Regions from separate parts of the Homo sapiens genome. Here regions 1, 2, 4 and 5 are each linked to region 3. Evidence: promoter capture Hi-C in 16 types of primary human blood cells and fetal thymus (Javierre and others, 2016). All regions are on one chromosome and are shown on one strand. The core of a region is centred on a gene start or on the middle of the fragment in contact, and the rest is flanking DNA. Distances in the headings are between cores, read along the strand shown.

Evidence for each region. The method cuts DNA at HindIII sites, captures the fragments that hold promoters and counts their contacts. A CHiCAGO score of 5 or more calls a contact.
Region 1: a fragment that was not itself captured here is called in contact with the fragment with the promoter of LRRC10 in region 3 in 7 of 17 cell types (naive CD4 T cells, naive CD8 T cells, non-activated CD4 T cells and 4 more); the score reaches 7.8 in naive CD4 T cells.
Region 2: a contact is called between a fragment that was not itself captured here and the fragment with the promoter of LRRC10 in region 3, in 1 of 17 cell types (total CD8 T cells). The highest score is 5.8, in total CD8 T cells.
Region 4: a contact is called between a fragment that was not itself captured here and the fragment with the promoter of LRRC10 in region 3, in 1 of 17 cell types (non-activated CD4 T cells). The highest score is 5.8, in non-activated CD4 T cells.
Region 5: a fragment that was not itself captured here is called in contact with the fragment with the promoter of LRRC10 in region 3 in 1 of 17 cell types (total CD4 T cells); the score reaches 5.8 in total CD4 T cells.

Annotation. Positions count from the first base shown.
Region 1 is chr12:69,296,205-69,298,904 of GRCh38, forward strand. No RefSeq gene overlaps it. Among named protein-coding and RNA genes, the nearest start is that of MIR1279, 24 kb to the left of the region's middle. The HindIII fragment of the contact is 2,838 bases long and covers 1-2,700 here.
Region 2 is chr12:69,253,308-69,256,007 of GRCh38, forward strand. The region is part of intron 3 of CPSF6 (cleavage and polyadenylation specific factor 6); the gene reads left to right. Among named protein-coding and RNA genes, the nearest start is that of CPSF6, 15 kb to the left of the region's middle. RefSeq lists an enhancer at 744-793. The HindIII fragment of the contact is 226 bases long and covers 1,257-1,482 here.
Region 3 is chr12:69,609,488-69,612,187 of GRCh38, forward strand. LRRC10 (leucine rich repeat containing 10) reads right to left here and starts at 1,420. Exons shown (of 1, transcript NM_201550.4): 1 at 1-1,420. The coding sequence starts at 1,351. The coding sequence ends at 518. The HindIII fragment of the contact is 9,863 bases long and covers 1-2,700 here.
Region 4 is chr12:69,273,625-69,276,324 of GRCh38, forward strand. It overlaps CPSF6 (cleavage and polyadenylation specific factor 6), which reads left to right. Exons shown (of 10, transcript NM_007007.3): 10 at 1-734. Among named protein-coding and RNA genes, the nearest start is that of MIR1279, 1.8 kb to the left of the region's middle. The HindIII fragment of the contact is 305 bases long and covers 1,193-1,497 here.
Region 5 is chr12:69,177,618-69,180,317 of GRCh38, forward strand. No RefSeq gene overlaps it. Among named protein-coding and RNA genes, the nearest start is that of CPSF6, 61 kb to the right of the region's middle. RefSeq lists a silencer at 2,258-2,458. The HindIII fragment of the contact is 688 bases long and covers 974-1,661 here.

The sequences.
Region 1 (2,700 bases), core at 50-2,549, 310 kb before region 3:
AGGACATTGGATTTGGCGATGATATTTTGGATATGACACCAAAAACACTAGGCAAGAAAAGCAGTAATTGATAATGGGACTACATTACACTTAAGTGCTTTAGCACACTAAAGGAAACAGTGAAAAGAAAACCTATAGAATGGGAGAAAATAACTGCAAATTATGTACCTGATAAGGGGTTAATATCCAGAACATATAAGGAACTTCTACAACTCAACAACAAAAACTTAAGTTAAAAATGGGCAAAGGATCAAAATAGACATTTTTCCAGAGATATGTGAATGGCCAATAAATGCACAGGACAATGCCCAGCATCACCAATCATTAAAGAAATGGAAATCAAGACCACAATGAGATATTATCTCACACCTACCAGTATGGCCACTGTCAAAAAAACAGAAAATAACACATGTCGGAGAGGATATGGAGAAGTTGGAACACTTGTGTATTGGTGGTGGTCATGTAAAATGGCACAGCCACTGTGGAAAACCATATGGCGGTTCCTCAAAAAATTAAAAATAGAAAAACCATGTGATCTAGCAATCTCATTTCTGGGTATACATGCAGAATAATTGAAAGCAAGGTCTCTAAATGATACTTGCACACTTATGTTTATTGTGGCATTATTCATAATAGCCAAGAGGTGCAAGCAACCCAAATGTCCATCAACAGATGAATGGATAAGGAAAGTGTGGTATATTTATACAATGGAATACTATGCAGCCTTAAGGAATTCTGTCATATGCTACAACATGAATGATCCTCAAGGACATGATGTTGAGTGAAATAAACCATTCATAAAAGGACAAATACTATATGATTCCACTCATATGGTGTATTTAGAGTGGTCAGAAATTATAGAAACAGAGTGCAGAAAGGTAGTTTTTAAGGGCTGGAGGTTGGGGGAAGAGGAATTAGTGTTTGGGGGTATAAAGTTTCAGTTTTGCAAGATGAAAGCATCCTAGATATCTGTTGCACAATAATGTGAATATATTTAACACTACTGAAATGTAATCATTTTTAAGTAAAAAATGATTAAGATTGCTGTAGTTTGGTTATTTTATTTTATTTTATTTTATTTTATTTGAGATGGAGTCTCACTGTGTCACCAGGCTGGAGGGCAATGGCATGATCTCAGCTCACTGCAACTTCTGCCTCCCGGGTTCAAGTGATTCTTCTGCCTCAGCCTCCCAAGTAGCTGGGACTACAGGTGTGCACCACCATGCCCAGCTAATTTTTGTATTTTTAGTAGAGACAGGGTTTCACCATGTTGTCCAGGATGGTCTCGATCTCTTGACCTCATGATCCACCCACCTTGGCTTCCCAAAGTGCTGGGATTGCAGGCATGACCCACTGCACCTGGCCTATAGTTTGGTTATTTGTCTGTAACCAAATCTCATGTTGAAATGTTGGAGGTGGGGCCTGGTGGGAGGTGTTTGGATTATCAGGTGGATCCCCTATGAATGACTCGGGCCATCCCCCTGGTGATAAGTGAGCACTTGCTCTGAGTTTGCATGAGATCTGGCCATTTAAAAGTATGTGGCACCTCTCCCACCTCTCTCTCTCTCTCTTGCTCTTGCTTTCAACATGTGATGTGCAAGCTCCCACTTCACCTTCTACCACGAGTAAAAGCTCCCTGAGGCCTCCCCAGAAGATGAGCAATGTTGATGCCATGCTTGTATGGCCTGCACAACCATGGGCCAGTGAAACCTCTTTATAAATTACCCAGTCTTGGATATTTCTTTATAGCAATGCAAGAATGGCCTAATATAGAAAATTGGTGCTGAGGAGTGGAGCATTGCTATAAAGATGCCTGAAAATGTGGAACTGACTTTGGAGCTGGGTAACAGGCAGACGCTGGAAGAGTTTGGAGGGCAGAGAAGAAGATAGGAAGATAAGAGAATATTTGGAAATTTTGCAGCCTAGCTATGTGGCAAAGAGAGTAAAAGGTTTTTCGAGAGAGAAATTGAAGCAGGCTGTGGAGCAATATCTTGCTAGAGATATTTGCATAACTAAAAGGGAGCCAAGTGCTGATATCAAAGAGAGTGGGAAAAAGACCTCAAAGCCATTTCAGAGACCTTCATGGCAGCACCTCCATCACAGGCCCAGAGGCCTAGGAGGGAAGAATGGTTTCATGGGCCAGGTCCAGGGCCCCATTGCCCTGCACAGCCTTAGGACACTGTTCCCTACATTCTGGCCACTCTGGCTCAAGCCTTGGCTCAAAAGACCCCAGATACTGCTCATGCCACCATTCTGGAGAGTGAAAGCCACTGTAAGCCTTGGTGCCTTCCACATGGTGTTAAGCCTGTAGGGTGAAAGAGTGAATGAGGTGTGCCAGCCTTCATCTGTATTTCAGAGGATATATGAAAAAGCCTGGGTGCCCAGGCAGAAGCCTGCTACAGGGGCAGAGCCCTCAAAAAGAACCTCTGCTAGGGCAGTGCTGAGGGGAAATGTGTAGTTGGAGCCCACACACAGAGTCCTCACTGAGGCACTGCCTAGTGGAGGGGACCACTGTCCTCAAGAACCCAGAGTGGTAGATCCACTGGCAGCTTGCACCCTGTGCCTGGAAAAGCTGCATGCACTCAACAGCCTGTGAGATCAGCTGTGGGGCAGAACCCACAAAGTCACAGGGGCAGAGCTGCTCAAGGCTTTGGGAGCCCAACCCTCATATCAGTGTGCCCTGGATATGGGACATGAAGT
Region 2 (2,700 bases), core at 120-2,619, 360 kb before region 3:
ATTGATACTTTTCATTTTACGTACCCTATTACCTAACACACTAAAACCAGTAGAGTGGAAATGTGGACAGATTTATTTTCTATTTTTCCCAAGTTTTCTCTATCTGTGGTTGAAATGGTTGTTGAAATGACAGTTTAAGAACCATTACTCTCCCTGTGATTAAGAGATGGGAGAAGATGGGCAACTGAATAATGTGTTACATGGATATTTTGCTTTATTTCACTACTAAACTATACAAGTGGGATAGCCTCAGCATGAGAACATTATAAATACAGATATCTAAAAGTAAGAAAATAAAATACCACTGTCCTACCATTCATTGATGTTTACTTTTAACATTTTAGTGAAGATTCTTTTGGGCTTTTTCCTAAAAATAAATAAATAAATAAATAATGGAATTATAATTCATGTGTTTTATATGTTTGATATAAGGAATAAAAATAAATACACATCCTCTCTAATGTCTAATTCTTTTGCATCATACCTGGTATGCTACTGTAATTTACCTTTCTTATTTTTGGTTATCGTGGTGGTTTCCACTTTTGCCTATTGTAAATAATGTTGCAGCAGACATCATTTTATATAAGTCTTTTGGTACAGATTTTGGATTTTCTTTTAAGGATAAATTGTTAGATGCACAATGATAAAGAATTTTCTTATTTCTTATATTGCTTACTTATCTTAGAAGATTATACCAATTTATACTAAACTGAGAATATTTTCAAAATATATGCAGAGTCTGAATACTTCTCACTAACTTTACTTATACCACTTGGTCAAAGCCACTATCATCTCTCACTTAAACTTTGGCAGTAGCTTCCTAACTGGAAGTATAGACTGCCCCCTACAGTCTGTACTCCACATAACAGAAGTTCTAAAAAAAAAATGACATTCTGCTCAATCTTCTCATGGTTTCCTGTCTGTCTCATTCTTTACCATTGTCTACAAGGTACTTTCTGGTCTGTTTTCCCACCACCTTTCTAACCCTATCCTACCACTCTTTTTCAGCCACATTAGTCTCTTTGCTGTTGGCCAGACCAATTCCTACCTAGGACCTTTAGCTGTTTTCTCTTCTTGGTTTACTTTTCCCCCTCAAATATCCACATGGCTTACTCTTTGACTTCATTCAGGACTCAAACTGTTTAAGAGTTTTCTTCCATGACCATCTTGTGCAAAGTAGCACCTTCCTATCCTGTTTCCTTTATTTCTGCTCTGATATATTTTACTCGTTTGTTGTCTCCTCTTCCAAGCCTTTAAGCTTAATGAGAACAGAGATTTTGTTTTGTTCTCTATTACTTCTCCAGCTCTAGAATGGTACCTTGCGTATAAGAAGTGGTGCTTAATAAATATTTGTTAAATTAATTTAGTTTTTTCTAAATGTTGTGACCCAAGATAATCCTGGTGCAAACAGCAGAACTTGTTGACTAAAATAAGAAGGATAATTTAAAAGATCATATTGAACATTAGGGGGAAAAGAGCTTAAGCTTCTTAAGCTACTAAGACCCTCCCTCCCTCAAATAATTTAGAATATCCTGTAACTATACGAATTGGTAATCATTCTGATTATTTTAAATTTGTTTTTCTTTTTGAGGTATAATTCATATGCCATAAAATGCAGGCTTTTAAATGTACAATTCAATGATAATTTATTATATTTATGAAGTTTAGCAACCATTACCACTGTCTCATTCCAGAACATTTCATCACTCCAAGAAGGAACCTTGTACCTGGTTAGCAGTCACTCCCATTTCCTCTCTTCCTATCTGCTGGCAACTGCTAACGTGCTCTGGATATGCCTGTTCTGGACATTTCATCTAAATGGAATCATAAAATACGTAGTCCTATGTGACTGGCTTTTTTCCTTAGCATAATGATTTTAAGGTTCATCCATGTTGAAGCATGCATCAGCATTTCTTTTTATGGCTGAGTAATATTCCACTACATGGATATAGCACTTTTTTCTTTTAATCTATCAGTCGATGGACGTCTAGGTTATTTCCACTTTTGGCTATTAAGGAAAATGCCCCTGTGAATATTTGTGTACCCATTTTGTGTGAACATGTATTTTCAGTTCTGTTGGATGTGTACCTAGGAATGGAATTACTGGGTTAATATAGTAACTCTATGTTTAAATGTTTGAGGAATTACCAGATTATTTGCCAGAGGCATTGTGCCATTTTATTAATACGTGCTCATCAGCAATGTGCAATGGTTCCAGTTTCTCCACATATTTATTTATTTATTTATTTATTGAGACAGAGTCTCACTCTGTCACCCAGGCTGGAGTGCAGTGGCGCAATCTTGGCTCATTGCAACTTCTGCCTCCCAGGTTCAAGCGATTCTCCTGTCTCAGCCTCCCAGCGTGGGACTACAGGCACACGCCACCATGCCTGGCTAATTTTTGAATTTTTAGTAGAGACGGGGTTTCACCATGTTGGTCAGGCTGGTCTTGAACTCCTGACCTCATGATCCTCCTGCCTTGGCCTCCCAAAGTGCTGAGATTATAGGCGTGAGCCACTGCACCCGGCCTCTCCACATCTTTAATACTTGTCTTTTTGATTATAGCCACCCTAGTGGGTATGGGGTGGTATCTTGTGGTTTTGATTTGCACTTCCCCAATAGTTAATGATATTGTACATCTTTTTATTGTAGCAAAAAGTGGAAGCAACCCAAATGTCCATGAACTGATGGATACATTTC
Region 3 (2,700 bases), core at 170-2,669:
TTTCTGTGAATCTGACTGATTGCCTAGGTAGAAATGTCCTTTTCGGTGGCCTCAGTGATACATTGATACTGTTTATGGTCATTTACAGTAAAGAAAATATGTCCTGCAAAGAGACAGACCACCAGAATATTTAGTTCTATGGCAAATACCTTATTTGAGGAGCTCATGAGCTTCATGACCAGTCACTTCTGGAGAGTGCAGGAGTTCAGAGTGTCCCAGCCCCTTTTGCTCTTCAGTGTTTCAAAATACATGTGTGGAGAAGCTGTTTTCTTGCAAAGAAGTTATGATCTCTGGATTGTCATGCCATCATTGGCACACAACTCCCCTCTGGAAGAGGAGCTGTTTGCCAGAAATATTTTCTCAGTGTGATTTATGGCATTCCACCTGGCTCTCTCCATCAGTCTCTACTAGCAGAGCCACTCCCAAATGACCCAGAGCCATCCTTTCCACTCCAATGGAGAGGCTTCCAGAACATGCTGCAGTTGGGTCCTTGGCATTGACTTGCAACTGAAGCTCCTCAGGAGTTGGTAGGAGGAAGTAGAGGGACTGGTGCCTGTAGCTCCTGGCTTTCCTCTCTGACCAACGCATAGCGCCTGGCTTTTCTAGGGTCGGGCTCTGGCGTCTCCTCTGCCCATCTCCCCACACGGCGCACACCTTTGGCCACCTTGGGTGCGTTCCTGCAAGGATTGTGGTCATAGATGACCAGCTTCAGACTTGACAGGTGCGCCAGGCTGGGGAAGTAACGGATGCTGTTCCAGTCCACATCAATCACCTCCAGGAAGGGCATGTGAAGCAGCACAGTGGGAAAGTCAGTTAGCCGGTTGCCCGAGAGCCAGATGGTCCTCAGCTCCTGGAGGCGCCGGAGCTGGCCTGGCAGCAAACGCAGGGCGTTGGAGCCGGCATGCAGAGTCTTAAGGAGACTCAGCTCACAGACCACATCCGGCAGCTGGGTGAGGCAGTTGGCCTCGATCCACAGGGTCCTGAGGTTCTGGAGCAGGCTCAGCTCACTGGGGAGGTCGCAGAGTTTGTTGTTGCCCAGGTAGAGGATGCAGAGCTGTTTCAAGGTGCACACCACCTGGGGCAGAGCCTTGAAGTTGTTGAAATCCAAGGCCAGAATCTGCAGGTTCTGTAGCTGCCCCAGCTCCGGAGGCAGGCTATTGAGGTGGTTGTCGCTCAGGTAGAGCTTGACCAGCTCCCTGAAGGAGCACACGTGCAGGGGGAAGCGGCGTAACTGGCTCCCACTCAGATCCACCATCTTGTCCAGCGGCATCTCACGGAGGTCCCTGACCACATAGTTCTGGCAACGGTCAGCAGGGATGAAGGCCACGAGGGCCCTGATGGTGTTCCCCATGCGGAGGCTGGGGGCATGGCGAGCCCCAGAGGACAGACTCACTGAGCGGGGCTGGCTCAGCTGACTGCTCTGGGGCCTATCCTACCCTCCCATTATAACTTGGGGATTGCATGACAAAAGCCAGTCACTTTGACAGAGAAAAGTGCTCCTGATAGCAACTTGAGTGTCCGGCGACAGCGCAACAGTCCGGCAGGGGCTGGGAGGCCATGTCTGACTCACATGCTTGCCTTTAATCACCTAAGCCCCAATCCCCTTTATCAACCTTTTTTCATTTCAAGCTGAAAATAGCTTTGCTGTTTTTTTCCCTAATGATAAAATATTAACACATTACATAAAGGTGTAAAAGAAGAAAATGAAAAACACCCATAGTTCTATTACCCAGAGATAAATACTGTACACATTTGCATGTGTCCTCTAGTCTTTTCGCTATAAGTAATCATTTGTTTTTTAAAATTGCACTTTAGGAGCTTTTTTTTTTTTTTTTTTTGACAGGGTCTCATTCTGTCACACAGGCGGGAGTGCAGTGGTGCAATCTTGGCTCACTACAGCTTCTACCTCCCTGGCTCCAGCAATCCTCACACCTCAGCCTCCTGAGTAGCTGGGACTACAGGTGCACACCACCGTGCCCAGCTAATTTTTGTATTTTTTGTAGAGATGAGGTTTCGCCATGTTGCCCAGGCTGGTCTTGAACTCCTGGGCTCAAGAGATCTGCCCGCCCTGGCCTCTCAAAATGCTGGGATTACAGGCGTGAGCCATGGTACTTGACCAGGAACCTTATTTTTTAATCATGACGTATCATGGACATATTTTCATGTTTGCAGATATCTATGCAATTATTTTAAACCCCTGCATAGTATTCCATTACATGGATGTGCAGTAATTTAAACAGTTTTCTGTGGTTAGGCATCTAGGTTGTTTACAAAGCATGACTATTATAAACATCCATGTGCATACAGATGTGAGCAGCAATCCACTCATTTCTTTAGAAACCGTCCTTAGAAGTGTTGCTGGAGCAGGCCAGGTGTGGTGGCTCACGCCTGTAATCCCAGCACTTTGGGAGGCCAAGGTGAGCCAATCACTTAAGCCCAGGAGTTTGAGGTCAGCTTAGGCTACATGGTAAAACCCCATCTCTACTAAAAAAAACAAAAATTAGCTGGGTGTGGTGGCACACACCTATAATCCCAAGTACTTGGGAGGCTGAGGCAGGAGAATGGCGTGAACCCAGGAGGCGGAGCTTGCAGTGAGCCGAGATTGCGCTACTGCACTCCAGCCTGGGCGACAGAGCAAGACTCCATCTCAAAAAAAAAAAAAAAAAAAGTGTTGCTGGATCATAGATATGCATCATTTAC
Region 4 (2,700 bases), core at 95-2,594, 340 kb before region 3:
TGTTACTGCGTAACACTTCTCAACATTCTGTAAGTTAAATTATTTTAAAATAACTATGGTGAATTCATGTTTATTTTTTTACTTTGAAAATTGTAGTACTCAGGTGGTATTTAATGGGAAAGGATCCTTTGGGTATAAATCATAATGTATTTTAAGGAATGCATCTATAACATTGATAACTTTAGCCTTAAAAAAAAGGTCTATTATTCCTTCCTCTGCATCCCATGGTATATTAGCAAAGTAGTTTACAGCCCTGTACAGCCTTACAAAGTTGTTTTACAATTTTTAATGGAAAGCCCTTAACAACAACAACAAAAAATTGTATCATTTTACCAATATCCACGAATTACTGATCACAGTTTGTAAATAATTTGTTTAATATCAGAAGGCCAAAGAAAGTCTTAAAATTTTAGCTATTGACTCTATGGTGACTTCACAATAAGATTTCTGTGCAAAAAGGTAAGGTGATAATTGATCTAATAGACTTTTTTTTTTTTTTTTTTGCTGTCCATGAGAATTAGACTTCATATTAGCTTCAATTAAAAAGCTCATTCCATTTTATTAAAATGTTTGTAATTGCAATTTTGTGTTTAATGTTTACTTTGTCTTTCCTTTCTTTAGCATTTAGGTGACTGTTCGGCAGTTTGATATATGGCCATTGTCGGCCTTAAACTGCACTAGTAACAAGCATGGTATTTATCTTGTATTGAAAATAAAACAAACTTTTGATAAGACTTTGCAGTTTGTCTTTTTTGTTTAATTTGTTATTTGGTAACCATTGTGTATGGTTTTAAGTAGTTAATGTTTATTGGCAATATGCAGTATAGCAGAAATTGGACTGTTGTCTGTATTCTATCTTTAAGCCAGATAGTGGTGGTTTTCTTGTGTATTGACATTTTGGTGCTCTTTAAAGCGACTGATAATTGGGCTAAAATTAGGATTAAGAGGCCTGACAGATTTCCAGGCTGTTACATGGTTTTTAAATGGAAGATTCAGAAAGCATTTGTCTAGTTTTAGAGGATCATTAACCTTACTAGACTTAAGTAAAAATGTTTGTAGCAAAAATATTTTACTGGTTAGCTTGGAAACATTATGGGGTACTTTTGAAACAGTAACAGACTTCAGTTTCAGTGATTTCAGTAGATATTTCTGTGCCAGGTATTAATATCAGGCCTCAGATTTCTTACCTGCAAGCTTCAGAGTATTAAAGGTAACAGTTCTAAACAAGTGAATATGAACATGAGAAATAATACTACCATCACTGGGATCCCTTTCCATGCCTCCACTAAAATTGTGGTTCAGATTTTTGTTAGATTTCCTGTTACTGTTTGTTGTATGTTTCCATTGATCAATCCCTATTTGTGTTGAATTAGTTGAGACTCTCGTCCCTACCCTGTGAGGTCATTTAACTTTAAGAGAAGATCATTAGGAATATTTTTTGGCCAGATGCCACACTACATATGACTCAGTTCAAGACCTAATTTAGTGAAAGAGAGAAGCTTTTTTTTTACAAAAGATTTATGGACAGACTTTTCCCAGTCTTCCTAGTTTTGTTTCAGAGCCATTACCATGAAACAATAATTATTAGAAATGATTTCCAATGATGTTGTTGGTCTTTTTCTCCCATTTATAGTTCATTAACAGTTCTTGGATTTTCGTGTGGTACATCAGTTCTGATAAACTATTGTCAGTTCCAGATAAATGATATATACTTTACCTTTCAAAAATCTATATTCATTTTATAGAAAAACTTTAAAAAATGAAATTTACTACTTTAATGTTATACTGAGATCTGTAGGAAAAAAATGGTGAATGGGAAAGGGAAGTACCTTTTAGGCAGAGACTTGCAAAAAGGGCTTTTGGCAAGAGGAGCATGCTAGTAGGAACTGAAAGAATGCCAGTTTGGCTGAAGCAGGGAGTGAAGAACATAGCCTATGTGTGGAGCTCAAGCAGTTGGCAAGGCTAGGCTCTCCGGAGCTTGTAGGTCACATTAAAGATTGTCCTAAGAGTCATGTGGAATCATTGAATTGTGTGAAGTGTCATAATCAACATTTCAAAAAGCTTCTTGGCTGCAGATTAAATTGATAAAAGAATAGATAAAAGAGAAACACCTCTTCCTGTCAGGAGAGAAGATAAGGGTAGATAAAAATAGAAGTTTGTGGGCTGTAGGTGTGTGGTAGAAATTTTAAGATGTCATATTTAGTGACTTATGTTTTCTTTGAAATAGAAATTGAGGGCATTGTGGTGTGGGCATGGCTTAGTTTAGAAGTAACAGTGTTTATCTGTGAGATTGTCAGGGTTTGCTATCTAAGATAAGGCTCCCATTTTTATGGTGGCAGTCCATCTAGTAACACATTCATCCCCTGGGAGAGGGTAGATGGATCAAGCTATGGGACGGAGAAGGCAGTAATTGTCTTCATCAGTTTTCACTTTAACGGTTGTCAACCCAGCTGAAGAACACAATCACCGATGCTGTCCTGTTGTTTTTTAGGGGATTGCTATTAACATTTTATTTTTTGAGACAGTCTCGCTCTCTCACCCAAGCTGGAGTGCAGTGGCGCATTCTTGGCTCACTGCAACCTGTGCCTTCCAGGTTCAAGTGATTCTTCAGCCTCAGCATCCCGAGTAGCTGAGACTATAGGTGTGAGCCATCACACCCGGCCAATTTTTTTTTATTATTTTTATTTATTTATTTATTTA
Region 5 (2,700 bases), core at 68-2,567, 430 kb before region 3:
GATAATTCAAGTGCATTATATTTATTGTGTGCTTTATTTCTTTTATTATTACATTGTAATACATAATGAAATAATTATACAACTCACCGTAATGTAGAATCAGTGGAATCCTTAGCTTGTTTTCCTACAAATAGATGGGCTCATTTGGGGTGATGGGAGTCAGTGACAGATCATGAGGCATTAGACTCTCTTAAGGAGTGTGCAGCCTAGATCCCAGGTATGTGAGGGATACTCAGAACACAAGGGGGTTCACACTTCTATGAGAATCTAATGCCACTGCTGATCTGACAAGAGGTGGAGCTCAGGCGGTAACGGCGAGTGGCGTAAATATAGATGAAGTTTTGCTCTCTCACCCATCTCTCACCTCCTGCTGTGCAGCCTGGTTCCTAACAGGCCAGAGACTGGTGTGTGGCCCAGGGGCTGGGGACCCCTGACCTAAATGTCTTCCAAAGTTAGCTCAGCCTAAGATCAGGAATAATTAAGGCAGCTTGAAAGCTAAAGGCAAGGGAGGGGTGGGTTAGATCAGATCTCTTTCTCTGTCACAATTTTCTCACTGACACAATTTTTACAAAGGTGGTTTCAACACTGACTTTCCTTTTTTTTTTTTTCTTTGAGACAGAGTTTTGCTCTTGTTGCCCAGGCTGGAGTGCAATAGTGCAATCTCGGCCCACTGCAACCTTCGCCTCCTGGGTTCAAGCAATTCTCTTGCCTCAGCCTCCCAAGTAGCTAAGATTACAGGCACACGCTGCCATGCCCAGCTAATTTTTGGTATTTTTGGTAGAGACGGGGTTTCACCATGTTGGCCAGGCTGGTCTCGAACTCCTGACCTCAGGTGATCCATCCATCTCGGCCTCCCAAAGTGCTAGTATTACAGGTGTGAGCCACCACGCCCAGCAACACTGAGTTGCAATCTCTGTATGTTGATTCTCTCCTTTCCAAGCACAGGCCCAAACTAGAATCCACTGAATGCCCAAGCTTGCTGATTAGAAAAACTTCCACTATCAGCAGGTGCAACCAGATCAGCCTCCCCAGCACCTGACCCACCCCAGTGCCAAATACTCAACCTCCCAATCCTCTCCTGGTTAGATCCTTTCTTAGTCCCACGGGTTTCCAAGATACAAGTGCAACTTTCCTGTAGCTATGATGGAGAGGCACTTTTATTAAAAGTCCTTAATTTCCAGCACTGAAAACTTCTGAAAAATAGTGGAATTACACATTCTCATCTTAATAGATTATCAGTTTTGCTGAATTATTTTTATCATGGCAAGACTACTATAATAGCTTTGTTAATGTAAATAAAGTCAGAGAGGAGCTAGTACTTTTGAAAAGCACTTGTACCAAATATTTATTGCTATTCTTTTCTGAAATCAGTAACTTTCCAAAAAGAGTGGAACCACCATGGCTTTCATTTTGGGTTTCGGAGTGTGTGAGAAGAAAAAGAGATCCTGGTAAAAGTCCTGAACTCATGAACATAAACGATAATAAAGAAACAAAAAGAGAATTTTAGAATGGTGGTTAATTATGACTTTTCACATGTAAAATTCTACGTGATAGAGTGCATAATGGAAACAGTTGTGCGTGTTTAGTATTGTATTGCTGAATGATAATTTGCATTGATGATGTCCTCACATTAACCAATTCAAGCAAACTTAATAATGAGAAGCTTGAAGAGGAAAATAAGACTCTGGCTCAGTGGAATAATGATTAATTCACAATTGCAATTAACACCTCAGAAGGTCTCAACCAAGAAGCTAGCTGGATGTGCAGCAGTGATGTAATCAGACTGTTTACGTCTGGCTTGAACTGAATCAATGATATTGGTGGCAGGGTACAGACTTTATCTCCATTTTTAAAGAAATAGAAGACTTAGGTTTTCTGAACTAAGGTTTATGCAATGATTTGTCTTTACAACATATTTTAAAAGAAATTTTTATATAGAAGTGTATAAGAATATATACTCCTTCAAACACACACACACACACACACACACACACGCACCATCTCTTTTCTGATTTCTTCTGGAAACTGACAAAAGAAACATGAAGATCATAAATTATAATGTTGACTTCTGACTCTCCCTCTTATCTTCTGCACAACTGAAGAAAAATTCACTTAAATAACTTCTAGTCTGAATTAAAATTTGGTTTTTGTGTTCAAAAGCCAAAAATGTGCAGATGTTACTGAAACCACTGGTGTGTGACCAAAAGATTTTTCCACATTAAGCACAAAGAAAGGACTGTCCTTTGGTTGGTGATTACAACAGCTATTTATAGAGCCTGCCTCTGTAGTTTTGCTCCTGGATATCAATAAGGAGACCAGCTCTCAGTCTGATTATCTTTCACACCCTCATTCACATTGCCTTTCACACATTGGATAATCATCTGTCCTCAGGACAGACCACAAAGTCTTTACCTGACTTATTCAGGCATTCATAGCAACCAAATCAGATCACTCCAAGGCAAGGTAATCAATTCCTTAGTAGCTGGCTGCCACAGTGGCAAACTCCACCAAAAGATCAAGTTTTGGTTGATTTGGGTGAATGGCACTGGCAGAAGCCTTCTTGTTCTGGGAGAATCAGTATGGGATGGTAGGATAGGAGTTACCAAACTGGATTAGAATTTTTACTGAACCTCCTACCAGCTGGATGGCCTTGGACTGTTTCTCAGCCTCTTTGAGCATGACTTTACTTATCTGCAAAAT